Linked DNA regions of Homo sapiens: region 2 is linked to region 1. The links are contacts of gene promoters, found by promoter capture Hi-C in blood cells and fetal thymus (Javierre and others, 2016). All regions are on one chromosome and are shown on one strand. The core of a region is centred on a gene start or on the middle of the fragment in contact, and the rest is flanking DNA. Distances in the headings are between cores, read along the strand shown. Region 1 holds the start of PCDH8 (protocadherin 8). Region 2 has its middle 26 kb from the start of LINC01065.

Region 1 (7,314 bases), core at 1,671-4,170:
ACTCCTCTCCAGCGCCACCTCCCCGGACATATTTTCCTTCCCGGGGAGTTGCTGCGGACGTTGATGTGCTATTTTAAATCGTATTTCCATAATCGAGTGGCTGTCCGCTGCCGGCCCGGAGCTCACGGTGTTCGCGTGCCTTCACACCTCCACCGCCGGCACGGAAAGACCTGTGCGCGCCGGTGGCGGCTGGAGGCTCGCGGCTCCCTTCCCGGGCTCCCCGGCTCCCAGCTCTCAGCCTCCCGGCGCCGCCGCCGTCGTGGCTACTTCCGATCGACGAGGGCCTGGCCGCGGAAAAAACACTTTAGACCTGCTACCAGCCACCCTACACCCCTCCTCCCGCCTCCTGGCTTTTGCCTGCCCCTACTCCCCTTTCCTTTTCCCACTTTCAAGCACGCCTTGGTTTATTTCAGCCTTGAGAATGAGCATGCTGACGCGGAAGCACTTTGAGTAGAAATTGCAAGTAGTTCCGAATCTCTGGCCAAGCGAAAAACCCAAACTTAGCGCGTGGCGGGGCTCCCGAGTCCAGCCCAGAACTGCGGGGTGCAGATGCGCAGGGGGCGCTGGCGCGAGGTCCGGGTCCCAGCCATTCGCGGCCGGGCTGTGCTCGCGGAAACCGCTGAAATCCCTTCCTTTGGGACTCCGGCCCCATTTCCACCCACTTTCCCCACCTTCCGGGTCCTCCGCCCGGCAGCAGCAGCGCCAGGCGGGCCTGACCTTGCCCTGGGTACGCCAGCGGAAGCGCTGAGGCCGCTGTCCACCAGCCAAGTTCTGAACCTGTTCCCGTCTGGGTCTCCGGGGGAAGAGGGGTGAGGAGAGATGACGTTAGCCTAGGGGCGCTAAAGGTCACCAGCCAGCCCCAGGTTGGGGTGGGAGTGTTGCGGGGCTCGGAAGGAAAATAGAAAGTTCCTTCGACTGCGTGTACCCCCCAAGGAATATCTCTTGGGCGGGGACGGTGGGAGGGCTACATACTAAATCGCACTTGGGAGATGGAAGACAGCGGAAGAAAGGGCTGCGATTTGGGCTCCTGTAGGGGGCGCTCCTCCTTCCACGTCCCCACGCGGCTGCAGATGCCTGGCCTTATTGCTTTTAGCATTCCCAAGACTACAAGGTGGAAGAGGTGGAGAAGGGAACCCAGAGACACACCCCTCTGAGGAAGTCTCCAGCCACTCATCATCCCCCTCCCCAGTCTTATAAGAGCTTGTATTTATGGATGGCTGGAGCTGCATGTTCCGCTCTCTGACAATTCCAAGCACCTCTCATCCCTGCCACCCAGCTCCCTGCTTGGTCTCCCTACTCCAAGGAAACTCCTGACCCTCTTCTGAAAAAAAACCCAAAACACACTCCCTCGAGTTTGAGGGAAAGGAAAACATGGATAGGACGCTGACAGCAGGACCAAAATCGGGATTCTGAAGAATGTTTACTGAATTCAATCTACTTACCAAACCTATCGCCTAAAAAGAAAAATTTCTTCCAGTGAGTGGCTTTTGTTTTTTACCTTTCCTCCTTCGTGTGTATTTGCATAGCCTGCTCAATAAAGCCCTTCAGTAAGAATCATTAAGAATCCGTCTTGTTGCAGATCCGAGCTCCATCTCCCTGGCCGTCAGGGATGGGAGGGGGCTATCTGTGGGGCAGCGCAGCGCCCGGCCAGCCCCAGGATCCGCCCAGCCCAGATTTTGGCAGTGCCGAAGCTCCACACTTTCCTAAGCAGATGGTTAAGTTCCCCCCACGTTCCTGCCAGGTTTCAACGTCACGCTGTGATTTTGTTCTTCTGGAACCGGACGAGTGTTGCTTCCCAGAGTGGCCCTATTAGAACAGAAAGAAAATCCTCTAAATAGGCGGAACAAGGCATCAGGAGGAAAAAGTTCTCTAAATGCACTTTAATACGAGCCGGGTATTGTGTGGAATTCAGCGCCCATCACCGTTTAGCCGGAGAGTTATGGCAGTGATTGGGGATGAATAGAGGAACATAATGGATACATGTGGCGTTTGCTCATTATATTCAAGTTAGTCCAACTCCGCTGTGGAAACTGTTCAACTTTCTCTCCCCTTAGCTTGTCACAGTGAAATAATACAGACATTGGGGCCTCCAATGGGATCGCCTGCCACACCATTCTATTTCCACTGCTAACGAGGGCTTCATAAGCCTTTGATACAGTCTGATCTTTGAAACCTTTCCAAATCTCCTCAAGCTTATGCTAAATCCTATTTGGAACTTTTTTTTCCTTGCCTGCTAGCTCCCAGGGCTTAAGAAGGCCACTTGGACAGTGACGTGCATACTAACATATCGCGGGGCTCTTTTCTGAAAGGGAAGTGGCAGCTCTGATCACTGGGGCTCACACGAGCAAAACACAATTGAGTACACAAATTTGAATAAAATCAATTTTCCCTTATCCTTCAGGCTTCTTAATCGAGAGGCTATTCCAGGCACCGTAGCTAGGAGAGAAGGAAAGCAGAGCCTCATTCAGCAGAGCAAGTCTGTGGGTAGGGGGCTGCAAGGGTTTGGAAGCGTCAGAGGTGCAAAATGCAGAGTGTGTGTGTTGGCAGGGGCTGGGGGAAGGCGGAATCAGGAGCCACTGGGGTGAAACCCCAGCGTGTTCGCACTTAGTTCTAGCCGCGGCACGGAGGGAGGCAGGCGACAATTAACAAAACCATCCGCTCCTTTTACTCCTGGAGCCCTGTGCCAACTCCTCTACATGCAGGGTGCTGACAAGAAAAGGGGGAAAAAGCAAAAGGAGTTAAACAAAAGAAAGATTCCCTAATTTTCCTTTCTTGTTTTCCCCTCTAAGCCTTTCCACATTAAAGGGATTGTCAGAGGCAGGCGGAGGGGCGACGCGAGGGGGAGGCGGCCATTGGCTACCCGGCTCGGGTGATTAGCATATCGGCGGCTATAAAGGCAAAGGCGGCGCGAGGCGGCGCAGCTTCTGTAAGAGACGGAGAGGCGCAGAGTGAGGGCGGGTCCGCGCGTCCTCAGAGCCCGCTGGAGGCTCGGAGCTGCTACCCGCAGACTTCTCCCGCACAGGGCTCGCAAAGAGCGTGATTCCGAGAGCCTGAGACTGACGCCCGACCTGGAAACCAGAGAAGACTTCCTTAGCCTTTCGGATCGCACTTGAGGCTGGAGGCATGAGTCCTGTGAGGCGTTGGGGCAGCCCCTGCCTTTTCCCCTTGCAGCTCTTCAGCCTCTGCTGGGTGCTCTCAGTGGCCCAGAGCAAAACAGTCCGATACAGCACCTTCGAGGAGGATGCCCCCGGCACGGTCATCGGGACCCTGGCCGAGGACCTGCATATGAAAGTATCGGGTGACACAAGCTTCCGCCTGATGAAGCAATTCAACAGCTCTCTGCTCCGGGTGCGCGAAGGCGACGGGCAGCTGACCGTCGGGGACGCCGGCCTGGACCGCGAGCGGCTGTGTGGCCAGGCCCCGCAGTGCGTGCTGGCCTTCGATGTGGTCAGCTTCTCGCAGGAGCAGTTCCGGCTGGTGCACGTGGAGGTAGAGGTGAGGGACGTCAACGACCACGCGCCGCGCTTCCCCAGGGCCCAGATCCCGGTAGAGGTGTCCGAGGGTGCGGCAGTGGGCACGCGCATCCCCTTGGAGGTGCCGGTGGACGAGGACGTGGGCGCCAACGGGCTGCAGACCGTGCGCCTGGCCGAGCCGCACAGCCCCTTTCGCGTGGAGCTGCAGACGCGAGCGGACGGCGCTCAGTGCGCAGACCTGGTGCTGCTGCAGGAGCTGGACCGCGAGAGCCAGGCCGCCTACAGCCTGGAGCTGGTGGCCCAGGACGGCGGCCGCCCGCCGCGCTCCGCCACGGCTGCCCTCAGCGTGCGCGTCCTGGATGCGAATGACCACAGCCCGGCCTTCCCGCAGGGCGCCGTGGCCGAAGTGGAGCTGGCGGAAGACGCGCCCGTGGGCTCCCTGCTTCTCGACCTGGACGCAGCCGACCCCGACGAGGGACCTAACGGCGACGTGGTGTTCGCATTTGGCGCCCGCACCCCGCCGGAGGCGCGCCGCCTCTTTCGGCTTGACCCGCGATCAGGCCGCCTCACCCTGGCCGGGCCCGTGGACTACGAGCGTCAGGACACCTACGAGCTGGACGTGCGGGCGCAGGACCGCGGACCCGGGCCCCGCGCTGCCACCTGCAAGGTCATCGTGCGCATCCGAGACGTCAATGACAACGCACCCGACATCGCCATCACCCCGCTGGCCGCCCCAGGCGCGCCGGCAACCTCACCCTTCGCCGCTGCCGCCGCCGCCGCTGCACTCGGGGGAGCGGACGCTAGCTCGCCGGCGGGAGCCGGGACGCCGGAGGCTGGTGCCACTTCGCTGGTGCCGGAGGGGGCGGCGCGCGAGAGCCTGGTGGCCCTGGTCAGCACCTCGGACAGGGACTCGGGCGCCAACGGGCAAGTGCGCTGCGCCCTCTATGGGCACGAGCACTTCCGGCTGCAGCCGGCCTACGCGGGCAGCTACCTGGTGGTGACCGCGGCGTCGCTGGACCGCGAACGCATCGCCGAGTACAACTTGACGCTGGTGGCCGAGGATCGCGGCGCGCCCCCGCTGCGCACAGTGCGGCCCTACACGGTGCGTGTGGGCGACGAGAACGACAACGCGCCGCTCTTCACGCGGCCGGTCTATGAGGTGTCGGTGCGCGAGAACAACCCGCCAGGCGCCTACCTGGCCACGGTGGCCGCCCGCGACCGGGACCTGGGCCGCAACGGCCAGGTCACCTACCGGCTGCTGGAGGCCGAGGTGGGCCGCGCCGGGGGCGCCGTGTCCACTTATGTCTCGGTGGACCCAGCTACCGGAGCCATCTACGCGCTGCGCAGCTTCGACTATGAGACGCTGCGCCAACTCGACGTTCGCATCCAAGCTAGCGACGGCGGCTCCCCTCAGCTTTCCAGCAGCGCCCTAGTGCAAGTGCGCGTGCTGGACCAGAACGACCATGCGCCAGTCCTGGTGCACCCGGCGCCAGCCAATGGCTCCCTAGAAGTGGCGGTGCCTGGGCGCACCGCAAAGGACACGGTTGTGGCCCGTGTGCAGGCCCGGGATGCAGACGAGGGAGCCAACGGGGAGCTGGCGTTCGAGCTGCAGCAGCAGGAGCCGCGCGAAGCCTTCGCCATCGGCCGCCGCACGGGGGAGATACTGCTCACCGGCGACCTCTCGCAGGAGCCACCCGGTCGCGTGTTCAGGGCGCTCCTGGTCATATCCGACGGCGGCCGTCCCCCGCTCACCACCACCGCAACTGTCAGCTTCGTGGTAACAGCAGGGGGCGGGCGTGGGCCGGCTGCGCCTGCCAGTGCAGGAAGCCCGGAGCGTTCCCGCCCGCCTGGCTCTCGGCTCGGGGTGTCCGGGTCGGTGCTGCAATGGGACACGCCGCTGATCGTCATCATCGTGCTGGCCGGGAGCTGCACGCTGCTGCTGGCCGCCATCATCGCCATCGCCACCACCTGCAACCGCCGCAAGAAGGAGGTGCGCAAAGGGGGGGCCCTCCGGGAAGAGCGGCCCGGGGCGGCGGGCGGCGGAGCCTCGGCTCCCGGCTCCCCGGAGGAGGCCGCCCGGGGAGCCGGGCCCAGGCCCAACATGTTCGACGTGCTCACCTTCCCTGGCACCGGCAAAGCGCCCTTTGGCAGCCCCGCGGCGGACGCGCCTCCGCCTGCGGTCGCCGCGGCCGAAGTGCCGGGCTCAGAGGGCGGCAGCGCCACTGGGGAAAGCGCCTGTCACTTCGAGGGGCAGCAGCGGCTCCGCGGCGCGCACGCCGAGGTGAGGCCTTCCTTCGGCTGGGCGCCCCCCTCCGAGCTCCGCGGACAGGCTGGGGGAAGGGAGACTGGAGGGGTAGGGTGGGTGCATTCAGGTAGACAACCTGTCGCACTTGTTTTTTGTTTGTTTCTTATCCAACCCTCCCCCCACTCCCATTCCCCTATTCCCTGCTGCAGCCCTACGGTGCCTCCCCGGGTTTTGGAAAGGAGCCGGCGCCCCCTGTGGCGGTGTGGAAAGGACACTCCTTCAACACCATTTCTGGCAGAGAAGCAGAGAAGTTCAGCGGCAAAGACAGCGGTAAAGGGGACAGTGATTTCAACGACAGCGATTCCGACATCAGCGGGGACGCTCTGAAAAAGGATCTCATCAACCACATGCAGAGTGGTGAGGACTCTTCTTTCCCGCCAAATTCGGCATTCCTCCCTTCCCTCCCCTTCACCACTGTTTGCCTCCTCTCAATCTCGGTTCCCAGCCCCCTTCCCTCTTCCCCACTTTTTCTCACTCCTACAGCTGCGGATACGGGCCTGCCTCACACGGTGAATTTCAAAATGCCAAGTCGAGGCAACTCCAGCTCTTGAATAAAACACACCCTCATCCTGTTAGGCAGCAGCATGGGTGATGCTAGCCATTAAAAAGTGGGTTCTGCTTATCAATTTTTTTTTTCACTTCCAGCTGAAGAAGCTGGACCAGCTTTGCATTAAGATGGCTTTACAGGAAGCAATGTGCCTTCGATTCTTGAGACACGGTGTATATCTATGCGCACAGCCTTTCCTTTCAGCTGCCCTGACCCAGGCTGACATGCTGAAGATGGAAGCCTGAATATGTATAATCTCAGGAATAATCGTCATGCTGTTTCCTTTTCCCTTTCGTATTAGGACTGTGGGCGTGCACCGCTGAGTGTAAGATCCTGGGCCACTCTGACCGCTGCTGGAGCCCATCCTGCAGCGGGCCCAACGCACATCCATCGCCTCACCCACCAGCCCAGATGTCAACCTTCTGTAAGAGCACGTCACTGCCTCGGGATCCTCTGCGCAGGGACAATTACTACCAGGCCCAGCTGCCCAAGACAGTGGGGCTGCAGAGCGTCTATGAGAAAGTACTGCACAGAGACTATGACAGGACAGTCACTCTGCTCTCCCCTCCCCGTCCAGGGAGGCTCCCAGACCTGCAGGAGATTGGAGTACCCCTCTACCAGTCCCCTCCTGGCAGGTACCTGTCCCCGAAGAAGGGAGCCAATGAAAATGTGTAATCCCATGCTGCATGTCTTCACACATATACAGGTCACTCCGAGAAGCCCCTAAGTTATTGACCGGTTTCAGTGTTGTATATATAAATATGCAAGATGTGCCTTACAATGAAGTTGTTGGAAGCTATTTCCAATCACATTGGTACTGTTTGGTATTTGCAAACAAAAATGTAGTTAATGTAATTTTTATGAAATGTGTGCAGTATTTAATTTTTCTTATGCTATTGACTTTGATTTCAATTGCGGCTTGCCATTTTCTTAGTGTTTTTAACCTGTACATTGTGTAATGTAATGTTTGTATATAATGAAATTTTGTT
Region 2 (7,314 bases), core at 2,523-5,022, 330 kb before region 1:
CAGCCTCCTGAGTAGCTGGGATTACAGGCACGTACCACCACACCCAGCTAATTTTTTTGTATTTTTAGTAGAGACGGGGTTTCACCACGTTGGCCAGGACGATATGCTCTTAGTAAAGCATCCCAATTGATTTTCATGAGATTCAGTCCTGCCTTTATGCACTTGAGTCTCTCACACTGCTGTTTTACTTTATATATTTAAGATCTGCATTATAGTCACAGATTTTAAATGTGAACTTTCCAAATTGATAAATAGGAGGCAGAAGATATTTGAGATTTCGTTCCTCTAGTCTTTAAAGAGTTTGATAGGAAAGGATTTTGTCCCAGTAATCCTACCCCATGGCTTAAGAATGTGTGGGAATGAGGAGGGAGTGTTATTCTAACGATGGATGGAAAAACTTATTTCTGAATTCTCTCACTCATTATTTCATCCAGAGCATCCCTGAGCCCTGATTCCACCAAGTGACCCTGATACCAAGGAATTTCAGCACCTCCATCATTGCTTTAACATGGCGGTCATCTTCAGAAATGTTTTCATTCTGATTTAGTTACCTACTAATATGTGTCTCAGAACCACTTCAGTGTCAGCATTTTACAATCTGGGATGTTTTCCCCCAAAAGCAATCACTTTAAAGTAAGTTTGATCTGTCCTCCGAAAGAGCATTCAAATTGGGTTCTATAGTAGGTTAAAAGGCAGGACACTGAAAATAGAACTGTCTTTTGCATCATATAAAATCCAAGTGAGTCTTTCAGAACAAACCAAAGTATACCAGAAAAAGAAAACTTGCTCTGGTGTCAAAATCCTAGGGACATTTGGGGCTGCTCAGACCAGGACCTTATGATTTAATGTGTTCTAGCCTAACCACAAATTTTACAGTTATATAGTCATGAGAACTCTATACAACTACAAATCACTAATAAGTCTATACAGGAAGACATTAGAAATCCAAATTCATCTTTAGCAAGTGAAGAAGAGTGTGCTAACAGGAGGAAATATAAACAGAGCATGGAGAGAAATACATAAGAAAGGTACTAACACACCAATTCAAACTCTTGTCAGATATCTCTTTAGAGCTCCTGTCAGCAGGAAGCCAATTACTTGAGAAAGAATGAAGTTTGTTTTATGAGCACAATATTACAAATGCAGCCCCTTCATCCTAACATCAAGGAAACATTTTGCATTTCTAATAGAAGCCAGCAGTGTTTTGCAGCTGATGAGGTGGTAGTTTGCCTTGGAGGTTAAAGCTATGGTAGGGATATGGGAGGAATAAATGAGCTCCTTAACTCCCTAAATTTAGCTCTTGTGATTAATCTATGACATTTAATTTGTGTTAACCTGCTATGTTAGACTATGGTCCTCAGAGCACAGCAATTAATGCCATCACATAAGTCTTGACCTCATGGGCTTCTTAAGGTCTCTAGTATGACAAACCTTTAATGTTTTTGGCATTGGAAACTTATGATCTTCATCAGAGGGATGGAAAGAGAAGCAAAGAGCATCACCCTCCATTTCATTACTTACTGGCATGATTACTATTATTTAATAATGTAATATTTTCTACAAAGGAACAACCTTTTGCAAGTTTGCCCACTTAAAAAAAAGTTTTCATTAAAAGACCATCTTTGTCCTTATTCTGCACACAAAAACATCTAGTATCTAGTTTGTCTCATTTTGTTCTATCCCTTTCCTTCACATTCAAGGAAACAGATAGCAGGATTCTTAATTATTATGCACAGTGTGCTTGGTTAAATACTGGTGTGAAGTGCTTCACTGTGCTCCTAAAACTCGGCCAAATTGTATCCACAGAAAAGTAACATTTTACATCAATTAGAAGAGGAAAAGGCCAGGGATCCCAGTCCTTAGGGAGGCCATGGGGTTAGGGGGGGTCGCCTGAGGTCAAGAGTTCAAGACCAGCCTGGCCAATGTGGTGAAACCCCGTCTCTACTAAAAATACAAAAATTAACCAGGCACGACGGTGGGTGTCTATAATCCCAGCCACTAGGGAAGCTGAGGCAGGAGAATCGCTTGAACCTGGGAGGCGGAAGTTGCAGTGAGCCAAGATCACGCCATTGCACTCCAGCCTGGGCGACAGAGGGAGACTCTGTCTCAAAACAAAAGAAGATGAAAGGACTCAGGCCATTTTACAGATCTTTGGGGTGATAGAAATAATCACTTTTACACCTGAGCATAACAGTCAATGTTTTTAATATTATTATTATTATTTGTCCCAGAAAGCTACTCTAAATTGGCCATTTGATCTATAATACACTCAACCACAAAACAAACACTTCAAAAGCCCTACCATGACATTTCTGCACCACAGATACACAATTCCCTGAAATTTTAACAGAAAGAGAATGAAAAAGAAAGAATCTACTTCATTTCGTTGGGCTAGCTACTTGACTCCTACAGTATTCATTTTAGCACAATATTCGTCATCTTCTAAAACCTAAATAAGTTCTCATTTCTATTGTGATTTCTTCTTTGACCCATGGTTTATTTAGAAGTATATTGCTTAATTTCCAAACACCTAGGGATTTTCTAGTTACCTTTTTTATTATTAATTTTCAGCTTAATTTTACTGTGATCAAAGAACATGCCCTGTATAAATTTAATGTGTGGAAATTCACTGGGACTTGTCTTAGGTTCCACTGCAGTTGTTGGATGTAGTGTTTTATGTATGTCAATTGAGTTAGTATGTTGGATATGTTGTTAAATTATTCTATATCCTTAATAATTTTTTTCTCTGCTTATTCAGTCAGTCATTGAAAGAGGTATATTAGAATTATCTAAAACTATCGTGAATTTATCTTATTCTCTTTTTTTGTTCTGTCAGTTTTACTTAATAAATTTTGAGGCTTGTTATTACATCCACGTAATATTGTCATGTCAGTATTACTCCCTGGCAAATTAACCACTTTATTGTTCTGAAATATTCGTCTACTAATTTTTCTCACCTTAATATCTATTAATATCTCAATATTTATTAATATCTTAATGTCTATTGCCTTAATATTTATTTGGTCTGCTATGAATTTAGCAAAAAAGCTTTGTTTTGATTAATGTGAGCAAGAAATACCTTTGTCATCCTTTTACTGTCAACCTTTTTGCCTTTTCACTTTTGAAGTTGTTTAATATAAGCAAAATAAAGTTTTCTAATCTAGTTTATACTTGTCTTTCAACTGGAATATTTAGTCTTTTCATTTAATCCATTTACTGATGTATATGGGTCTAAATCTACCATCATGCTGTACATTGTCTATTTTCCCCCAACATGTCCCGTGTTTCCTTTGCTCTCATTGTTGCCTTATTTTTTTCATTAAATATTTTGCATTATTCCATTTCCCCTTTTATTATCTTGTTTGTTATACTCTTACTATTCTTTTAGGGTTTACCCTAGAATAAAACATGCATTATTGACCTTTCCCATGTCATAATGAAAAGACCTGAGGATAATTCCATTCCATTCCATTGATCTGTTCTCCAGCCTTTTCTGTTTTTCTCATGTGTCTATCCCATAGATATGTAAACCCCACAAAACATTATCATTGTCATCATCATTATCATATACTTTCACTATTTATCTAGACTTACCCATATATTTATTTTTTGCATTGCTTTTCATTTTCTCCCTGTTTCTGGCTGGATCTGTCTCAAGAACTTGCTCTAGTATTTACTATCATACAAGTCAGCTGGATAATAAAATTATCTCAGTTTTTGTTGGCCTAAAGTTATTTAGTTTGCTTTATTTTTTAAATGATTTTTTACCGGGATGGAATCCTAGGTTAACAGTTTATTTTCTTCAAAAGTTTAAATAAATAACTTGAAGCAATTTTTTAACTTTGAATAATTTGTTAGCTTCCATTTTTCTTTAGAGTAGTCGCATTAGTTTTATTTTGGCTTCTGTCTGCTTTTAAGATTCTTTTTTCTTTGGTTTGTGGCAATTGTACTATGATATGGCTAGGTATGGTATGTTTTATATGTATCCTAGTAGAGAGTTGTAGTGCTTCTGGACTCTGGGTATCTTTCGTTATTTTTGGAGACTTCTTAGCCATTATCCCTTCAATCATGGCTTCTCTAGCAGAAATTTTATTGACAGGTTCTAAATGTACATACTGTTTGGCCTATCCACCATATTCCATATTTGTCTTATGCTGAGATTTTCTTCTGCTTTATTTTTCAGAGTGCCAATTCTCTCTTTAGCAGGTTTTTGTTGTTGTTGTTGTTGTTGTTGTTGTTGTTTTGGTTTTTTTGTTGTTGTTTTATTTTTGGTCTGCTATTAAACCTATCTAGGGAGTTATTAATGTCAGTTGTTATTTTTCATTTCTAGAATTTCTTTTTGAGTTTTTAAAAAGTTATTCTCTTAAATTCTCCACCTTGCTTTTTATTTTCATCATGTTTATTAAGTTTATGTCAGATAATTTCAATACCTGCATCTCCTCTAAGTCTATTTTTACTGTTTTTTTTTCTCCTGGTTTCCAGAAACATTAAGCTTTCCTCTAATTTCTTCAAACAGACTTTTAGAAAGTACATTTTGTATAGATGGTTTTAGTTCACCATTCTACTAGTGCCCTGGTAACTTTTTATTAAATGCCACACATAAACTTTCGTTTGAGAAGTCGTTTGGAATTCTGGATAACGTCAGCTTCTTCAAGACAGCATTTACTTTTGCTTCTGACAGGGTAAGGAAAGATCATCTTACTCTGACTTGAGAATGAACTGATTTAAATCTGTGCTCAGCTTTGTGTGGCTGGTCTATTACTAGTCCACCCTCACTCCTATGGAGTAGCCGATCCAAAGTCCTAATTAAAACCCTGGAGGGTTTGCCAAGATCTCCGTACTCGAGCGGGCTCTGAATTCCAATTTTTGTCCACTAGCCCATGAGACCACCAGGAGCTCTTTTGCCTTCTTGACCTTTCAGCCATCAATTTCTGCTCAATTTCTCAGCCTCTCTGCTGCTGCTCTGGAATTGGCAAATGCCTTAAAGGGAAAAAGCAGCCCTGAAAATCATTTCCTCTGTGTACTTCTCTTGTCTCCAACACCTTGGCCACTAAAGTTCTAGTTGATTTGGTAGACTTTTTAGAAAATAATATTTTGTTTAGCTGTTTTTAGTTCACGATTGCCAGAAATATACAGCCCCCCAAAATACTTCTAACATTTTTAACATCCTATGCCAGCAGCAGCAGAAATTCGACAATTCCTGTAAAATACTAGATGTCTTAGGTTTACTAAGGCGGCATTCATAGCTTCCTGGGTGAGATGGCTCCTATTTGGCCAAGCACAATTCTCAGCAGCACAGGAAAGCTGTGAGCTATTAGCAGAAACCACTTATAGCAGCTGCCAGACTGCTGTATTAGGTGAAAAGGAGGTCTAGAAGGGCCTCAATGGCATTGAGTACAACAGACAACCTGATCATTTCAGTAACACAGCTGCTATGGGGTATATGTGTCCTCCAAAATTCATATGTTGATATTTAATCCCAATGTGATAGTATTAAGAGGTAAGGCCTTCAGGAGGTGATGGGTGCTCTTAGAAAAAGTGGTATGGGGGAACTATTCCTCCTTTTCTGTCCTTCTGTCATGTGAGGACACAGCATTCAAAGCATCATCCTGGAAACAGAGACAGAGCCCTCGCTAGATACTGAATCTCCCAGTCCCTTGATCTCGGGCCTCCCTGCATCTGAAAATATGATAAATAAATTTCTCTTATTTATAAATTACCCAGTCTGAAGTATTTTGTTATAGTAGCACAAACAGACAAAGATAGCAGCTTTTTAGCTAGGTCTTCCTTATTCCTTTGCCTGTCCCATGGCTAACTTCTTTTTCTTTCTTTTTTTTTTTTCTTTGAGACGGAGTCTTGCTCTTTCACCCAGGCTGGAGTGCAGGGGCATGATCTTGGCTCACTGCAACCTCTGCCTCCCTGGTTCAAGCAATTCTCCCGCTTCAGCCCCTTGAGTAGCTAGGATTACAGGTGCACGCCACCACGCCCAGCTAATTTTCTGTATTTTTAGTAGAGATGGGGTTTCACCATGTTGGCCAGGCTAATCTCAAACTCCTGACCTCAAGTGATCCACCCACCTCGGCCTCCCAAAGTACAGGGATTACAGGAATGAGCCACCAAGCCCGGCCCACTAACTTCTTTTTCTAGCTTCTCAACAAGTAAGATTGAGTAAGTCTGAGAATGGGACCGTGTCTAGAATTTATTCCTTCCAGTGGGTTCTTGGTCTCACTGACTTCAAGAATGAAGCCACGGACCTCGCAGTGAGTGTTACAGCTCTTAAAGGTGGCACATCCAGAGTTGTTTGTTCCTCTCAGTCGGTTCGTGGTCTCACTGACTTCAGGAATTAAGCCGCAGAGCCTCCTGTGAGTGTTACAGCTCATAGAGGTAGTGCGGACCCAGTGAGCAGCAGCAAGATTTATTATGAAGAGTGAAAGAACAAAGCTTCCACAGCGTGGAAGGGGACCACAGCTGGTTGCCACTGTTGGCTGGGGGTGGCCAGCTTTTATTCTCTTATTTGTCCCCACCCACATCCTGCTGATTGGTCCATTTTACAGAGCACTGATTGGTGCTTTTACAATCCTTTAGCTAGACACAGAGTGCTGATTGGTGCATTTTTACAGAGTGCTGATTGGTGCATTTACAACCCTTTAGCTAGACACAGAGTGCTGATTGGTACGTTTACAATCCTCTAGCTAGACAGAAAAGTTCTCCGAGTCCCCACTCAACCCAGGAAGTCCAGCTGGCTTCACCTCTCAATCTTCATTCTTGAAGTCAGCAAGACCAAGAACCCACCAGAAGGAATAAATTCTGGACACAGGACTATGGGGAAAGACCTCAACCCAAAACATACACAAACACATGTGTGCGCGCACACACACACACACACACACACACGCACAGCATCTCCAACACCATTCCCAGACTATGCACCTCACTTCCCTACCCCAGTAGAATATGCCATTCAGCCTGACTATTGAAACCATCTTGTACTGACCATCAGATCTCTTAGGCAGTGGACTTTCAAGATACCTCTAAACTTGTCACCATGTCCAGTTAGCCCATGAGAAAACTTGCACCTCTGCCTCTTCAAAATCTGGATGTACACGACGCTCCCACTGTGGCCTTCTATCATTGGTCTGCCTTTGGGGCTTCTCCACAAGCCTCTTGCTTTTAAGATTTTCCAAGCTACAGCCAGGGCTTGATCTCTAGGTCCAGACTCTAGAGGATGTAGTTTGACTTCTCCCTAGCCTCTCTGCCCTTGGCTCTGCTCCCATGGTGTTGCAAGAACAGATGGGATTCTATAGCTCAGCTAAC

Evidence for each region. Contacts are between HindIII fragments. The CHiCAGO score rates a contact against its expected background, and 5 or more counts as called.
Region 2: a contact is called between a fragment that was not itself captured here and the fragment with the promoter of PCDH8 in region 1, in 2 of 17 cell types (M2 macrophages and M1 macrophages). The highest score is 5.6, in M2 macrophages.

The regions. Positions count from the first base shown.
Region 1 is chr13:52,844,246-52,851,559 of GRCh38, reverse strand. PCDH8 (protocadherin 8) reads left to right here and starts at 2,920. Exons shown (of 3, transcript NM_002590.4): 1 at 2,920-5,754; 2 at 5,928-6,135; 3 at 6,627-7,314. The coding sequence starts at 3,124. The coding sequence ends at 7,000. RefSeq lists enhancers at 8-217, 892-1,186, 2,532-2,826, 2,957-3,846, 3,847-4,735. The HindIII fragment of the contact is 1,116 bases long and covers 2,195-3,310 here.
Region 2 is chr13:53,174,714-53,182,027 of GRCh38, reverse strand. No RefSeq gene overlaps it. Among named protein-coding and RNA genes, the nearest start is that of LINC01065, 26 kb to the right of the region's middle. The HindIII fragment of the contact is 1,444 bases long and covers 3,051-4,494 here.